Linked DNA regions of Homo sapiens: region 1 is linked to region 2. Evidence: promoter capture Hi-C in 16 types of primary human blood cells and fetal thymus (Javierre and others, 2016). All regions are on one chromosome and are shown on one strand. The core of a region is centred on a gene start or on the middle of the fragment in contact, and the rest is flanking DNA. Distances in the headings are between cores, read along the strand shown.

Region 1 (2,700 bases), core at 122-2,621, 650 kb after region 2:
ACACAGAGGTGGAAATACACAGCCATGAGACCTTGTGCTTGAGGGTTAAAATACAGATCAGGGTTAAAAGATAACAGCACAAGGTAACTTAAGCTAAATGTCAAACAGGCAGTGAAGACAAACAGAGGTGAGCTGGGTTGCTCAGGGAAAGCTTCCCAGAAAGGAGTTGTTTTGGGCGGGATTTTGTTTGGTTTTGTTTTTGAGACAAAACCTCGCTCCGTTGCCCAGACTGGAGGTCAGTGCTGCAATCACCGCTCATTGCTGCCTTAACCTCCCAGGCTCAGGCGATCCTCCCACCCCAGCCTCCCAAGTTACTGGGACCACAGGCGCATGCCACTGGTGCTCAGCTAATTTTTTGATTTTTCGTAGGGACGGGGTCTCACTATGTTGCCCAGGTTTGTCTCAAACTCCTGGGCTTAAGTGAGCCTTCCACCTCAGCCTCTCAAAGTCTGAGCTACTGTGCGCAGCCAAGGAAAGGAGTTGATGAGGACTTTGAAGAAAGCTAATGTCTATTGAGGGCTTATTAAGTAATGGACATTGGGTCTTGGCCTGCTTTATCTCTTTGATTAAAGTTTGGATTCTGGAAAAGGACCTAAAGGTAGAAAGGTGGGACTGATTGAAGAGGGAATGATTGGATAATGAGTTTGGCAGGCGGGAGGCAAATAGGAAAGGAGACGGCACATGATTCTAAAAGCCAAAGTGAAGAGCTTGTATAATGAGAAGCTATTATACATTTTCAATAGGGAGTGCTATGTGCCCAATTGTAGGATTTCAGTGGGAAGCATTCAAGTCTGAGAAAAGCAACCAAACCACACAAAGAGCCCAGGCAGCAAGCAGGTCATGGGTCCTTGGCACAGGGGGAGAGGCAGGCGTCCAGAAAGGTTGACTTGAGAATCCAGTCATTTTTTATTTGATTCCAGGCATTTTGTGGAAAAGGTCCAGTAAGTAATGAAATAAGTCATTTTTACATGAAAAACAAAAGGCTGACCAGAAGAAAGATTAGCATCAAGGACAGCACCTGGAGAGTCTAAGGAAGGAGCTCCTTTGGGGGAAAGGAGGTTAGAGTTTTAAGTGTATTCAGCATGGAGAGGCTACAAGGAGGTGGAGATACCTTCCCAATAGGACACTAGAGATGGGAAAATTGTATTGTGGGAGCTGCCTGAATGCATTCCATCGTCATCTCCCGGGAAAACTGGGAACCCCACTGTCCCAAGGCCCATAAAGCTAATGGCATGTTTTATGTCTCTGTTTTACATCTTTATTTCCCCCTAGTGAAATATGGAATCAAAGAAAACCAAATTTCCCAAGTCTACTTCTAACCCCCAAAATAAATATTTTACCAAGTATTTATTGAGTTCCTTCTCTGTGACAGCATTCTGCTCATTGCTGCCTTAACCTCCCAGGCTCAGGCGATCCTCCCACCCCAGCCTCCCAAGTTGCTGGGACCACAGGCGCATGCCACTGGTGCTCAGCTTATTTTTTGATTTTTCGTAGGGACGGGGTCTCACTATGTTGCCCTCCCAGCCACTGTATCTGGCTGATCTTTTTCTATGTCAATTTGGGGGTAAATGGAGAAAGGCATGGGATATAGGTCGAAGCAAATGTCCATGGAGCGTTCTCTAAGTCAGTCATTCCACGATAATGGCTCTGTTCCTTTATTTACAAAGGACATATATAGCCAACAGTATGTTGAAAAAGAAAGAACATCAGATTAGCAAGGTTGAGGACTTCTGTAATCTTAGGAAAGTAACCGAACTCTCTGGGACTCAATTTACTTATCTGTGAAATGATGGACTAGTTGATACACAATTTGACTGTAATATCCTATGATCTGATATCATGGAGTTAGGCTCATAATGCCTTTAAGAAATCACATCATTGCTTTTATAGAATGCAAGCTGTTTCTTGTTATAAGGAAGAGTGTCGCCCTCCCTCCCTCCCTCCCTCCCTTCCTTCTTTCCTTCCTTCCTTCTTTCCTTCTTTCCTTTGAGACAGAGCCTTGCTCTGTCACCCAAACGAGAGTACAAAGGCATGATCACAACTCACTGCTTCCCCAAACTCCTGGGCTCAGGCAATCTTCTTGCCTTAACCTGATTAGTAGCTAGGAATGTGCACCGCCACACCTGACTAATTATGTTTTTTTTTTTTTGCAGAGACGAGGTCTCAGTATGTTGCCCAGGCTGGTCTCAAAACTCCTGGGCTCAAGCAGTCTTCCCTCCCTGGCCTCCCAAAGTGCTGTGATTATAGGCATGAACCACCATACTGGTCAGAGAAGGGTATTCCTTAAGGGTACAACTTGTGTCCAAGGCCACCCTGAACAGTCAAAGCTATGATCTTCTTTGCCAGTCTCCTGGGGATCCTGGGGCTGAGCGCAACATCTGCATCCTCAGAGGCTGATAACCCTCCCTTCTCTCATGAGGATATGAAGATAGGTAAGAAGGAAGAGGATGCATGGTCTAGTCCTTGGGTCACCTGAGACTGAACAGGAGAGAAGCAGGGTCCCTAGACCATCATGTTTGTCATGGAGCCAAAGGGTCACTGCCCAGTGTGCCAAGACTATGACACCAGGTTTGTGAGAAAAGCAAAGCTTTTATTGTTCCCAGGGAGACAGGAGTCCAGCTCAGATCTGTCTCCCTCTGCTGGCTTCAAGGGAGTAGTTTTATTAGAAGAGGTTTACGGGGTGGATTCTGGGATTAGTGG
Region 2 (2,700 bases), core at 89-2,588:
CTAGAACTCCTAACCTCACGTGATCCGCCTGCCTCGGCTTCCCAAAGTGCTGGGATTACAGGCGTAAGCCACCGCGCTGGGCCCCTTTCTTCCCATTTCTACAAATGAAGTAGTATTATTCCCTTTGGCTTTTCCTAACAAGTCATTTGACATTTAAACGCGGGACTAGTGGCAACGGAGTTCATGATTATCGTTTCTTCTGCCTCCCCACTGATGAGAGAAAGGCCACAAGTCCTGTCAGGCTCTCACTTCCAGAAAGGCCACCTCTGTAGACCACGCACCATCAACTGGCTTCACAGCCAGGCAGCTTTGCGGGACCATCAGCCCCAGCTCGACTGCAGCCTCCCCGCCCCTCCGGGACCTAGACGTTCGGGCCCAGCTCAGCGCGTTCTGCGGCCCTGCTGTCCCAGAGACCACCGCCTCCAAGTACCTCGCGGCCACAACTTTCCCAGGACCTCCCACCCGCGGGAATCCTGAGGCCCTGACGTCAGCGAGACCCCTTCCGGCATCCAGAGGCCAGGACGTCCCCGTGACCTCCCCCAAAATGCTCGCAGCCCCGCCGTCCCCGGGACCCCCCGGGACACCCAGCGGCCCCGCTGTCTCCGGGACCCCCCCGGGCACCCTGCAGCTACGTCGTCCCTGGGACCCCTCCGGGCATCCCGCCGCCATGACGCCCTGGGACCCCGCGCGTCTACATCGCCGCGAGCCTCCGCCGCGGAGTAGACGACTTTCCGGAGGAATCGCCAGGCGCGAGGCCGGGCCTGCCCGGCCCTTCGCTCCGGAGTGTCCTCGCGGCAACGCCACTCCACGACATCCCTAGGCCGGCGACACGCCGCTCTCAAGCCTGTGGATGACCCAGCGCCAGAAAACCGGGTGGCCGTCATGAAGCCCTAGCCCAGCTCCGCAGCCCCTCACCTTATAGACGGCCACACAGGCTGAGGTGCAGCCCAGGTGAACTCCGATGGCCGCCATGAGGCAGCAGGGACGGCAGCGGCAGGAATGAGGGGGTCCCCCAACAGCAACAGCTACCGGCCGCCCAACGGCCCCATCAGGCACCGCGGAGCTTCACGTTCCCGCCAGCCCCCTGCGTCCGGTCGGCCGCTACAGCCTCCCGCGTCGCCGCCAATCAGCGTGAAGGTTCCGCCTTTCTTCACGCGCAGTCCGCGAGTAGCTTCAGCGCGTCTCTGCGCTCCGCGGAAACTGCACAGTGCGCACGCGCAACCGGGGAGGGACGGGAAAAGGCTCCTACACTCCGCCCCCTTCCTATCCCTTCCTTGAGAGCCAATGGAAACTCTGTGTTCAGTTGCGTCATTTGTCCTGGCAACTACTGGCAGATTCTTTCCAACCTCGAATTCTGCTCAGCTCGCTTTGGCAGCTTGGTGGGCGGTGGGCGCGGGTGGCGGAGGCGATTGAAGCTGCTGGCCCAGCATGTGGTGCGCGAGCCCAGTTGCTGTGGTGGCCTTTTGCGCCGGGCTTTTGGTCTCTCACCCGGTGCTGACGCAGGGCCAGGAGGCCGGGGGGCGGCCAGGGGCCGACTGTGAAGGTGAGCGGTGTGACAACTGCTTGCATGGCGGCGGCCCCGCGCTGCGGCGCAGCAGCTGTCGGCTTTGGCTTCTCCTGGCCCTGGCTATAAATAACATTCCGCCCAGGAAATGCAGGCCCTGTCCCTCGTTTTAGATCGCCCAAGCCCAGCTCGAGTAAAAAGCTCAAGCCGGGCCTGGTGGTAACGTGAGGCCACGTTGTGGTTTTGCTGTGAATATTAAACTTCAGCAGTAAAAGCTGGTGGGTTTGTATTTGGATTAGAGTTTGTGCAAAGAATGCTAGATTCAGATGATACTGGCGCCAGATTGATTCTGCTGCTTCCAACCAGCAAGATTTGCCTCCCCTTGCACAGAAGACGTCTTTCAAGTCCAAGCTAGTTGGTGACTCCCCAAAGGAAAACAAAACATGGCATTGAGTTGAGTAGCTTAAATCAGAGGACATAGCTAATATTTGTTAGGACTCTGTAGGTGAAAATTGCTTTGCAAAGGAGTACACTGACTCCTTGGGAAAGAGAGGAATACAAAAGAGTGGTTCCTTTTTGTTCACGGTATCTCAGCTGTGAACTCGCAGTCAGAATACGTGAGTCTGTATCCCACCAAGTCCCCTAGCTCTGAGACTTTGGTTTTTGCAAAATCAGCGTACTTCACTTTAGAGATCTGTTAGCAAAGGCAAAGAAGGTAAGTGGCTATGCTAGCCCCTTCCTTCTGGACTCCTGTAGCGCTCACTCCATGTTTTACTGAAAATAATTAGTTTAAATGTATATGCCCTCAGCTGGAAAATATATCCCTAGTGAACAGGAAATTGTAGGTTCATCATATATGTTGAGTGAATGGATGGGTATAGTCGTACTAAAGTTGTGTTTTTGTTTGTTTTGTTGTTTTGTTTTTTGTTTTTGTTTTTGTTTTGAGACAGTCTCACTGTGTTGCCCAGGCCGGAGTACAGTGGCACAATCTTGGCTCACTGCAGCCTCCATCATCGGGTTCCAGCGATTCTCCTGCCTCAGCCTCCCAAGTAGCTGGTACTAAAGGCACCACCACCACGCCTGACTAATTTTTATATTTTTAATAGAGATGCAGTTTCACCATGTTGGCCAGACTGGTCTTGAACTCCTGGCCTCAGGTGATCGGCCCGCCTCAGCCTCCCAAAGTGCTGGGATTA

What was found. The method cuts DNA at HindIII sites, captures the fragments that hold promoters and counts their contacts. A CHiCAGO score of 5 or more calls a contact.
Region 1: a fragment that was not itself captured here is called in contact with the fragment with the promoter of CDNF in region 2 in 1 of 17 cell types (naive CD8 T cells); the score reaches 5.4 in naive CD8 T cells.

The regions. Positions count from the first base shown.
Region 1 is chr10:14,186,407-14,189,106 of GRCh38, reverse strand. All of the region lies in intron 2 of FRMD4A (FERM domain containing 4A), which reads left to right. It overlaps LOC124902378 (a long non-coding RNA gene), which reads right to left. Exons shown (of 2, transcript XR_007062060.1): 2 at 2,645-2,700. Among named protein-coding and RNA genes, the nearest start is that of FRMD4A-AS3, 110 kb to the right of the region's middle. The HindIII fragment of the contact is 2,436 bases long and covers 154-2,589 here.
Region 2 is chr10:14,836,675-14,839,374 of GRCh38, reverse strand. It overlaps CDNF (cerebral dopamine neurotrophic factor), which reads left to right and starts at 1,338. Exons shown (of 4, transcript NM_001029954.3): 1 at 1,338-1,543. The coding sequence starts at 1,429. HSPA14 (heat shock protein family A (Hsp70) member 14) reads right to left here and starts at 1,069. Exons shown (of 14, transcript NM_016299.4): 1 at 916-1,069. The coding sequence starts at 972. MSANTD7 (Myb/SANT DNA binding domain containing 7) reads right to left here and starts at 1,069. Exons shown (of 5, transcript NM_001378785.1): 1 at 916-1,069. RefSeq lists an enhancer at 786-1,025 and a silencer at 1,176-1,285. The HindIII fragment of the contact is 8,843 bases long and covers 1-2,700 here.